Regions from separate parts of the Homo sapiens genome. Here region 1 is linked to region 2. Evidence: promoter capture Hi-C in human tissues and cell types (Jung and others, 2019). All regions are on one chromosome and are shown on one strand. The core of a region is centred on a gene start or on the middle of the fragment in contact, and the rest is flanking DNA. Distances in the headings are between cores, read along the strand shown.

Region 1 (5,774 bases), core at 989-3,488, 77 kb before region 2:
GGGGAATGGAACAGAAATGCAAGACTCAAAATATATAATCAGCATGGCGTGTTGTGGAAAACAGAGAGAACCTAGAGCAGAAGATCTGTGTAGATGAAGATGGGGACCATATACTCAGATTGTCATATCATGAAACGGAGATATTCTAACTTTAGTTTACAAGGAAGTAACGAACTTTTTGGAGGATTTGAGTGAGGTAGAGATGCCAGATATTTATTCAGGAAAAAAAAAAATGTTTGGCAGTGTGCAGTACGAATTAGAGGGGAGGGTAACCAGAGTCACAATTAGAAAATTATCACAGGATCGGGCTGGGCATGGTGGCTCACGCCTGTAATCTCAGCACTTTGGGAGGCCGAGGTGGGTGGATCATGAGGTCAAGAGTTCGAGACCAGCCTGGCCAATATGGTGAAACCCCATCTCTACTAAAAATACAAAAATCAGCCAGTCATGGTGGTGTGCGCCTGTAGTCCCAGCTACTTGGGAGGCTGAGGCAGAAGAATCACTTGAAACCGGGAGACGGAGGTTGCAGTGAGCCGAGATTGCTCCGTTGCACTCCAGCCTGGGCAACAGAGCAAAAATTCCTTCTCAAAAAAATAAATAAATTAAAAAAAAGTGTAATTTGTTGCTTAGAAAGTGTATCTTCATTCTCATCTAATCAGAATTTGAATTGAAGTACATATTGATTTCAAGTTTTTTCTCCTTACATTAATTTTCCTATTAAAAATAATACCTTGAGTTCTGATCTTTGTTGCTAAATAATGTTTCTTCCTAGGATATCTCACGGTTTATAGATCATCTTGTACATATTTAATTCCATCACTAGACAGGTATAGAACTGTGTAAATACAGTAAGAACTATACATACAAGATCTCTGAGAGTTTTGAGCGGGAAAAAAATTAGTGCTTCACCAGAACTGGGAAGACATCATAAAGAAGGTGACGTTTAAGAAAAGCCTATTTGGAGGTTGCAGTGAGTCAAGATTGTGCCACTGCATGCACTCCTGCCTGGGCGACAGAGTGACATCCTGTCTCAAAAAAAAAAAATGGATGTGAGTGTGATCTGTCTGGGACATCTGTCACCCCATTGATTACTAGGGTTGATTTGGCTAATCTGGCTGGCTAGGCGGGTGTCTCCTTCCTCCCACACTGCTCCATGTATGTCCCTCCCGAAGCTGCACGCTTGACCAAAGAGGATGACCATCCGGATAGAGGAGGACTGGTCTTCAGTCAAGGGTATATGTATGGTTGTACTCCCCTGCTAGAACCTCCAAAGAAGCTTTCAAGAAGAGCTTATGGCAGGCCGGGTGCAGTGGCTGATGTCTGTAATCCCAGCACTTTGGGAGGACGAGGTGGGCGAATTGCTTGAGCCCAGGAATTTGAGACCAGCCTGGGCAATATAGCAAAACCCTTTATCTACAAAAACTATAAAAAGTTAGCTGGGCGTGGTGGTGTACGCTTGTAGTCCCAGCTACTTGAGAGGCTGAGGTGGGAGGATCACTTGAGCCTAGGAGGTTGAGGCTGCAGTGAGCTGAGATCACACCCCTTGTACTCCAGGCTGGGCTACAGAGTGAAACCCTATCTAAAAAGAAAAAAAAAAAAACAACCAAAACCTACGGGCAGGACTGGGGATAAATAGTGTGTTTAGGGAAAAACAAATATAGTAGTAGATTGTTTACCAAAATAACAAAATATCCAGGACCTGTACTGTTCTGGCCTAATGAAGTGCTATTTCTGGAATTTTGAATTTTTTTTTTTTTTTTTTTGGCTGAGCACAGGGGACTTTATTGATGGCACATGACAAGGCAGGGCTCCCTAGGCCCCTCCCTCTTCAGGGGGTCTGCATGGAAGCTGTGAGGAGGGGAGAGTCTTAGTGTGGTTGGGGACTGAGTATGGCAGGGACTCCCCAGCATTGAGGGTCTCTCTCTTCCTCTTGTTCTGTCACTGGGGCTGGTGGTCCAGGGGTCTTACTCCTTAGAGGCCATGTGGGCCATGAGGTCCCCCACCCTGTTGCTGTAGCCAAATTCATTGTCTTACCAGGAAATGAACTTGACAAAGTGGTCGTTGAGGGCAATGCCAGCCCCAGCATCTAAGGTGGCGCGATCTCGGCTCACTGCAAGCTCCACCTCGTGGGTTCAAGCGATTCTCCTGCCTCAGCCTCCCGAGTAGCTGGGACTATAGGTGCCTGCTACCACGCCCGGCTAATTTTTTGTATTTTTAGTAGAGACGGGGTTTCACCGTGTTAGCCAGGATGGTCTCGATCTCCTGACCTTGTGATCCACCCGCCTCTGCCTCCCAAAGTGCTGGGATTACAGGCGTGAGCCACTGCACCTGGCCTCCCCACTGGCCTTTTTAAAAAATTATTTTTGCGGCCAGGCATGGTGGCTCATGCCTGTAATCGCAGCACTTTGGGAGGCCGAGGCGGGTGGATCACCTGAGGTTGGGAGTTGGAGACCAGCCTGACCACCATGCCCAGCTAATTTTTGTATTTTTAGTAGAGATGGGGTTTATTTTGTTTGTTTGTTTGTTTTTGTTTTTGAGATGGAGTCTCACCCGGTCACCCAGGCTGGTGTGCAATGGCACAATCTCAGCGCACTGTAACCTTTGCCTCCTGGGTTCAAGCTATTCTCCTGCCTCAGCCTCCCGAATAGCTGGGATTACAGGTGTGTGCCACCACACCCACCTAATTTTTTGTATCTTTAGTAGAGATGGGGTTTCACCATGTTGGCCAGGATGGTCTTGAACAGCTGACCTCGTGATCTGCCTGCCTTGGCCTCCCAAAGTGCTGGGATTACAGGCATGAGCCACTGTGCCCAGCCAAGACAGGGTTTCACCATGTTGGCCAAGGTGGTCTTGAACTCCTGATTTCAAGTGATCCACCCACCTTGGCCTCCCAAAGTGCTGGGATTATAGATGTGAGCCACCCTTCCCGGCTAGCTTTCATTTTTTCACAGACAGGCAAGCGCTTGGACATTGGTGGCCAAAGAGAAAGTTATATACAAGGGAGAGATGAAACTGGAATGGGTGATACCCTAAAGCCTTGCAGATAGTAGGAGAAAAAGGAACTTAACATTTCTTGTGTAGCGAGTATTTTGCAAAGCAAACCGGTAAAGTAGGTATTAATTACCTGTATTTTTCAGATGATAAAATTTAAGGTTAGGGAGGTTAATTATCTTGCCTAAGCATGGAAATAGTGATTCAAATTTGTTAGGCTAAAAGCTTTGCCATAGAAATTTTTTTTCCCCTTTGCGTCTCTCTGTTTTTTTTTGTTTTTGTTTTTGTTTTTGTTTTTTTGAGACGGAGTGTCGCTCTTTTGCCAGGCTGGAGTGCAGTGGCGCAATCTTGGCTCACTGCAACCTCCACCTTCCAGGTTCAAGCGATTCTCCTGCCTCAGCCTCCCGAGTAGCTGGGGCTACAGGCGCGGGCCACCACACCCAGCTAATTTTTGTATTTTTAGTAGAGACGGGGTTTCACTGTGTTGGCCAGGATGGTCTCAATCTCTTGACCTCGTTCGTGATCTGCCCGTCTCGGCCTTCCAAAGTACTGGGATTACCGGTGTGAGCCACTGTGCCCAGCCCCCTTTGTGTCTCTTTAATGGGTTATCTCCCTAGAGATTCAGAGGTGAGGTGGGGACTTCATTTTTATGTCTTTGGTCTTGTCAGTTCTGTATCTTGAAGTTCAAGGAAACATGGGAATAAATGCTGCATGTCATAGATTGGGTTCCCTGAGCAGCTGATTTTGAGATGGAGACAGGGATTTATTAGTGAGTACTCTTGGGATCAGCATGTATGGAAGGAAAAGGATTTAAGCAAGATTGGGTAGAGCATGTAAGGCAGTCTCAGTGAAAAGCCAGGATGATTCCACAGGAGCCCTCCAGAGCTGTCCTCCTGTCCCAGCCAGTCAGTGGATATGGTTTGCCCCAGTAAGTGGGCGTGACCTTGAGCAAGGGGTCTTTCTTTAGTGGAGGCAATTTCAAAGAGGCCTAATAGCTGAGGGCTGTCTGCTGGCCACACTCTCAGCAGCTGTGGGAATAATGCCCTCAGTGCTGAAGGGGGAATCTGGGTGTCACATCATGATGTCCACTTCAGTGCTTTTAATTTTCTGGGAGAAACAGGGCTTTAGAGGCTAGCAGTTGGGGAACTAGATATTTGATGAAGCAAAGTTGGCAAAGAAGCACCTTGGCTTCAAAGGGAAGAACGACTTTTTTTTTTTTTTTTTTTTTTTTGAGATGGAGTTTCGTTCTGTTGCCCAGTCTGGAGTGCAATGGTGTGATCTTGGCTCACTGCAAGCTCCGCCTCCCGGCTTCAAGCGATTCTCCTGCCTCAGCCTCCTGAGTAGCTGGGATTACAGGCGTGCACCACGACTCCTGGCTAATTTTTGTATTTTTAGTAGAGACGGGGTTTCACCATGTTAGCCAGGATGGTCTCAAACTCCTGACCTCGTGATCCCCCTGCCTTGGCCTCCCAAACTGCTGGGATTACAGGCGTAAGCCACTGTGCCCAGCGACAAGAACCACTTTCTTATGCTGCCCAGTTTGAGTGAATGGGTGGGCAGATTGATTCATCCCACAAGCTTTCAGTGATTGCTAGGCTCTAAGTATGTTACAGTGAACAAAACGGACATGGTATATATACTGTGTAAACTACGACTTATAGCCCAGTATAGGAGACAGACATCAGTCAAATATTGGTCTTAACGAAAACAATTATTTTCAGAGAAGGACACTGAAGCAAGGAATATTGTTTCTGTGCATGTGAATAGCAAGGGACTTGTCCTGGTCTAGGAAGTCAAGGGAGGTTTCCTTGAGGAAATAATGCTGTAGTGAGTTATTTTCTGTCACTTTCTCTGGTATTGGGAAATCTAAGCAACCATACCCTGTTGTACTTATTACCTTGTCTCCATCTGATTTTCAGTAATGAGTGAGATAGTGGAAATAACACAGATACATCGTAAGTGATATGTTGACAGTGGTGTTTTGGAGCCTTGAAACCATATATACTGTCATTTTTTTCTTCCTCTCCCTCCCTCTTTTGAGACTTAATAGGCCGGGACTTCTGGGAAGCCAATTTCTGTAAGTTCGTGGTGTAGAGAGTTATATATAATTAATGTGCTATTATTATTATTTTTTATTGCAAGGGTGTAGTATTTTAGGAACCTTTGAATTAAATAAGCTGGTGGGCTTACCTGGGAATCTACAGTTTTATTATAATAATGAAGACAGTGCAATATGAGCTGCAAACTTGTTTTTGTCCATTAACTTATGGAGCACAATCTGCTTTTTTTTTTGGTCTTTCTTTTTGAGACAGGGTCTCACTCTGTCTCCCAGGCTGGAGTGAAGTGCTGTGAATTCGGCTCACTGCAACCTCTGCCTCCTGGGCTGCAGTGATCCTCCTGCCTCAGCCTCCTGAGTAGCTGGGACTATAGGCATGTGTCACCACGCCCAACTAATTTTTTTTTTTTTTTTTGTAGAGACAGGGTTTCACCATGTTGCCCAGGCTGATCTCAAATTCCTGGACTCAAGCAGTCTACCCACGTTGGCCTTCCAAAGTGCTAGAGTGTTGGGATTATGGCATGAGCCACCACCCCTGGCCTTGTTTTTTTTTGGAGACGGAATCTTGCTCTTGTCGCCCAGGCTGGGCGTGCAGTAGCACGATCTTGGCTCACTACAACCTCCGCCTCCTGGGTTCAAGTGATTCTCCTGTCTCAGTCTCCCGAGTAGCTGGGATTACAGGCGCCTGCCACCACGCCCAGCTAATTTTTGTATTTTTGGTAGAGAC
Region 2 (5,967 bases), core at 2,726-5,225:
AGTTGACATGTGTGATTTCTTTGCCACCCATGGCCTGGCAACAGTAGTATAACTGAAGCTTTGTCTTAGTGCCTGGCTTATACAAATCCATAGGACTTTTGTGTCCTCTTTGGCCCAACTTGCAGACTTAAAGAAGAAAAATGTAGGCCGGGCATGTTGGCTTATGCCTGTAATCCCAGCACTTTGGGAGGCTGAGGCGGGCAGGTCACTTGAGGCCAGGAGTTTGAGACCAGCCTGGCCAGTATAGGGAAATCCTTTGTCTACCAAAAATTAAAAAAAAAAAAAAAAATTAGCTGGGGTGTGTTGGTGTATGTCTGTAGTCCCAGTTACTTGGGAGGCTGAGGCAGGAGAATCGCCTGAGCCCGGGAGGTGGAGGTTGCAGTGAGTGGAGATAGCGCCACTGCACTCCAGTCTGGGCAACACAGTAAGACCCTGTCTCCAAAAAAAAAAAAAAAAAGGCACCCAGTAGGCCCCGCTGTATGCCTAATACTCCATATTACCTCCAGCAAAGCAAGATGACTGTAGTTCATGGAAATTATAGGAGTTCATTGATCATTGCTGCCTGTGGTGGTACACATGCCCCTTAGGAGAAAGCCAGATTATCTCGTTTTAGTCTATTCTAAATTTATATTTACTTGCTAGGGGGTGGCGAGTGGGTGTTGCTTGTCCAAGGTAATATCTGTAAGGTCTCCACAGCCCTAAAACTATAAAAATGGTGCTTCAGTACCTATACCAAGGGAGACATCCCTGGATCATGGGACTATGTTTCTCTGCCTTGCAGATACAAACCGGAACTGCTCAATTTAATGGTTTCAGCAGAAGGGTTTAAACCACACATGTCAAAGATTAGCTTACCTGGATCCACTTGGCCACTAGATTTGAAGATTTTATCTGCCTTTGCAGGCAAAAACATATAAAAATTTGAAAGATTGGGGTCCTGTTTCCTACTCAGTACCTTAACTCTTTATTAGAGTTAGATCACCTCTGTCTTAGACAGCTTTAATCATATATAACCAACTTTGAGAATTTAAACTGGTCCTTAGTATGAGTATATCCTATAGTTAATTGGGTCCAATGCCTAACTAAACTCTGGCAGAACCTTCCACTATGAGGTAATACTAATGTCCTACCATCTGCATAAGGCAGAACTCATTCCAGCAGGAATTCCCATCTTTTTACCAACTCCTTATGGGAAATGAGGTCTTTGTCATCCCGTGATTGATGCAGGACATCATTGTAATATATACACTTGCTCCATTTATATGCCAGAGATACTCCCATGCCATGGAAGGAAGTGAAACCTTACCAGGAGGTTATCCCTCCCGACTGGAAGATACAAAAAGTATGATAATTCTCCTAGACTTAACAGATCATTCCTCTATAAAATTCAGACACTCTTCAAGGAAAAGGAATGGTTTTAGAAGCTGCGTTTGATAAGAACAGGGAGCTTCTGTCTCCACATTCTCCCCTGCTATCAAATCTTGGTTGTTGTCAGCTGCATGCTTCTCTGCTTGTCTTTTAAAAGGATTTCATTCCCATTACCTTAGAAAGAAAGTAAAAGCTAGAGAAGCTGCTGTCAACTTTTTACTTAAATCTGACAGTATATCTCTGCCTTGGACTTGCCCACATTTTTTTTTTGTTTTTTTGTTTATTGATCTGTGTTTTGACCTTCCTCTGCCTTTCACAAGCTGAGTTTCTTTTTTTTTAACATGTACTTGCTTCATTGCCTCTTGTCAATAGCACTGAATGTAAGAAACATTCATTTTGATATTGAGGTATGAATATTTTGTGTTGGCTTCTTTTGTGTGTTAAAAATAAAAATTACACTGTCTAATTATTGACATGTTTTAAGAATCAAGGATTTTCCCATGTTAATGTAATTCTTTTTGAGTGTCCAAATTTTAGTTCTATTTTGAAATATAAAATTTATCTGCTCTAAATGTTGTCTGCTACTGGTATTACACTAACAAAAGTACTATGGCAGCCACTTTATGTAACTGATTGACCACAGCATCTCACAAACTGTGCCAAGTACTTGAACCTTCCTAGGACTAATAGGACGTAACCTCTGGCCACAAGGTCGTGTGAACATGTCATTGCAGTCCAAAGAATACAGCTGTAAATATTTTGCAGTGTTGAACTGCGTCTTCAAGGAAGCCCAGGAAAATTGCCTACATTGGTAAATGTTTTAGCTTCATTTGAGGAGTATAGAAAAACATAAGGCACTATGTGTCAAAAGGAGCACAAATAAAGACAACAGACTAGCTCAGAAGTTCAGGTGAAATTCCATTCCACATTTCTTTGATTTTCACTACAGAGGCAATCTTGACAATTTATAAGTCATATTAATTCATGTTTTACATGTACTTTGGAAAATGAGTATTTCAGGGAAACCTGTGTTTTATAATTTTGTAAGCAGAAGTCATACCTTAAGTTTTTTAAAAATGAAGTTTTTTTTTGAAATATAACCTGTGCGTTATTATTTACTGGAAAATTCTATTGTAACCAGATGAGCATAGCACTTATGTAAGCCATCAAATGAACATTAAAATTATAATATTGTACAGAACTCATTTTTATAGTGCTATTTGGCAAAATGCAATTTTACTTTCTCTTTGGGAAGAAGATATTTTAAGCTAATAACCATTATCTACAATCTCAAAATGAAGGGCATAACTTTGAAAACTCTTGTAAAGGTAGTACAGTTAGGAAGTAAATGACTAAAGAGGGTCTCTGTTACCGTATACTAGCGCCTGCCACTGTTCCTTCTGATTTTCTCATCACTTAACATCTGCTTGTGTCTTCAGTGATGAGGTGGTGTGGAGAAGAGAGAAGAGGATCTGAACAGGAGAACAGGATGTGATGGCTCAAGGGAGCAAATGTGGTTTCTTACAGAGTAGGGAGGAGTTATAAACTAGGGATGGAGAACTCTATCATATCACACATTTTTTTCATATTTACCATTTCTATAACTGAGGTACATCTTAATATCGTTAGCTTGTCAAAGTTTAGCAGCAGTATTTTGTCTTGGTGGCACGTAAAATAATGGTTGCTATTACAAATGATAGCATCTTATAGTTGATGAAATATTTGAGCAGCTCTGTGAGCTATTCCCTCCGTATCACAAGAAAGTAAAATTAACAGACAGGGAGGAGGGAAAGAATTTTGCAGGGAGATGAGAGAGAGAGGGAGAGACAAAACAATGTGGCTGCTTGATGTTAAAATTAGGCAAATTATTTTATAACTTTTATAAAATTAAATTTTATTTTTTGATACAGGGTCTTGCTCTGTCACCCAGGCTGGAGTGTATTGCAACCTCAACCTCCTGGGCTCAGGTGATCTTCCTGCCTTAGGAAACTCCCGTATAGTTGGGGCCACAGGCATACCCCACCATACCTGGCTAACTTTTTTATCTTTTTGTGGAGACTGGGTCTCACTTTGTTGCCCAGGCTGGGCTCAAGCTATGCTGCTGCCTCAGCCTCCCAAAGTGTTGGGATTACAGATGTGAGCCACCATGCGTGGCAAAATTCCTGAAGATCAAATAGAGATCAGAATATTACTTCACAAGTAAAGAGCAGCTTTTTAATAATACAGGGATAGAAAGTTTGCCTAACTGGTTTGTTAAGATGCTAGTACCTTTTATTAGTAGACCTCAACTCAGAACCACAGGCAAAAAAACTTCTAGGAACATATTTTAAATGAGAAGAAAGGAGACTACTAGGAATATTAAAAATGGTTTGCCTTTTAAATGTACCTGCTTCTTGAAAAGATTATTTCTTCAGTCTTTTCCCAGAGAGTGTCGACACAGGTGTGATGTAATTAAGAGTCAGGAGAGTAAGGAGAGTAACTTCGAGGTCTGGAGGATCAGCCTGAAATGTTGGTCAGTAGTCCTCTGGTCTGGGTTTTTACAGGAGCTGGAAGTTCTCTTAAAGGCCTCCACATTCAGCTGGATCCAGAAGGTCTTGTGGAAATGAATGAGTGTAACTTCCTGATGCCTAAGACTTCCTAACATACTTGATTTCATTACTTACATGCCAATGCTAATAAGCAGTGTTGCTGCTTGCTTATTCCTTTAACTTCTTCAAACTAGGGATGCCCTTAACTTTTTAAAAAAAGTGCCAGTATCATTTCTCCTCAGTTCTTTGACATAGAGTGTATGTCAAGTTCAGATATAGGGCAGGATAATCCAGCATAGAGCACAAATTTAAATATTTTCAAGCCTTGGGCAGCTTCTTAACATTTTGTTATTCTCTTTCTATTCAAAGAAAATTTAATTATATCTAGGTCTTTTGGAAAGTACTAGAGCAAACAAAATAACACTAATGAAATAATAAAACATCCCCAGTTGGAGAGGAAGGCTAGCATTTTTATTTAGTGAAAGAGACCTAGAAGAGATCTCAGACATTCTAGTAATATCATTATTATGGATGCTGAGGCCCAGAGATGTAAAATAACTTCTCCAAAGTAACACTGCTGTTTAGTGACAGAATCTTAACTAGAAGCCTTCAGTTCTTTTTATAGGATGTGCTTTATATACATAACCTTTAAAATTTTCTCTCGAGTTTTTTCTGATTTTAGGTGGTGGGATATACATAAATTACCATCATCAAAGATGTGTGTTCATACTCAATAAGATTCTTTTGGTTGCAAGTAGCAGAAACCAGTCAACAAACCAATCTAGCCAAAAAAGGAGTGCGGGGGAGAATTTAGAAAGAATCCCATACTATTTCCCAGAATCCAAAGAAGAGCAAATGGCCAAGGAAAAGATATGAATTGAGCCATTCCAAAGCCTTTGGTAGGATGAGTTTGTGTGGCTTCTCTGCAGAGTGCTGGCAAGACCATGTCCTTCTAGTAATTGGTGGTGTGAGCCCCTTAGTTGAACATTTCAAGCACAAGAGCGAGCAAGCACAGACACACAGAGGCCATTCCTACCACCTTCAGTACTCTTCCTTCTTACCCCCACCCACCCCAGTCTAAATCCTACCCATTTTTCAAGGTCCAGCACAATCATTGCTTATTCTTCAAAACTCTTCTTGGCCTGGCGTGGTGGCTCACACCTGTAATCCTAGCACTTTGGGAGGCTGAGGTGGGCGGATCACCAGAGGTCAGGAGTTCAAGACCAGCCTGGCCAACATGGCAAAACCCCATCTCCACTAAAAATACAAAAATTAGCCTGGCGCAGTGGCACATACCTGTAATCCCAGCTACCCAGGAGGCAGAGGCAGGAGAATCGCTTGAACCCAGGAGGCGGAGGTTGCGGTGAGCCAAGATCGCGCCACTGCACTCCAGTCTAGGCAACAGAGCGAGACTCCATCTCAAAACAAAACAAAACAAAAAACTCTTCTTGATCTCTAGCTAGACATCTGAGTGGGTGTGTGTGTGTGTGCAAGTACATGTGTGTTTAATCCCAGTACTCTTGTATGTTTCTATTTTATGACCTTTAACATATTCAACTTGACAGAAGAATCCTACAGCACATATGGAATAACCAGTAATTGGTCAGTTACATTAAAAGATGGGAAATCATAAAAATGATATCAATATGCAGTTCCTATCTGCCTTAAACATTTTATCTTAAAACTTATAAATGTACGTTTAGTTGGCTGGGCACGGTGGCTCACGCCTGTAATCCCAGCACTTTGGGAGGCCGAGGTGGGCAGATCACGTGAGGTCAGGGGTTCAAGACCTGCCTGGTTACCATGGTGAAACCCTGGCTGTACTAAAAATACAAAAATTAGCTGGGCATGGTGGCGCACGCCTGTAATCCCAGCACCTCAGGTGGCTGAGGCATGAGAATTGCTTGAACCTGGGAGGCGGAGGTTTCAGTGAGTTGAGATTGCACCACTGTACTCCAGCTACTCCAGCCTGGGTGACAGAGTGAGACATCATCTCAGAAATAAAATAAAATAAAATAAATGTACATTTAGTTGCTGATGTATATGTAAGACAAGGCCTTTGCTTTGAATA

Evidence for each region. The method cuts DNA at HindIII sites, captures the fragments that hold promoters and counts their contacts. A contact is called where the count stands out against the background at its distance.
Region 1: a fragment that was not itself captured here is called in contact with the fragment with the promoter of KCTD4 in region 2 in 6 of the 25 tissues and cell types used here (H1 embryonic stem cells, IMR-90 fibroblasts, dorsolateral prefrontal cortex and 3 more).

Annotation. Positions count from the first base shown.
Region 1 is chr13:45,122,048-45,127,821 of GRCh38, forward strand. All of the region lies in intron 1 of GTF2F2 (general transcription factor IIF subunit 2), which reads left to right. It also overlaps the pseudogene RN7SKP4. Among named protein-coding and RNA genes, the nearest start is that of GTF2F2, 4.4 kb to the left of the region's middle. RefSeq lists a silencer at 1,691-1,884. The HindIII fragment of the contact is 3,307 bases long and covers 586-3,892 here.
Region 2 is chr13:45,197,070-45,203,036 of GRCh38, forward strand. It overlaps KCTD4 (potassium channel tetramerization domain containing 4), which reads right to left and starts at 3,976. Exons shown (of 2, transcript NM_198404.3): 1 at 3,755-3,976. The region is part of intron 4 of GTF2F2 (general transcription factor IIF subunit 2); the gene reads left to right. The HindIII fragment of the contact is 9,631 bases long and covers 1-5,967 here.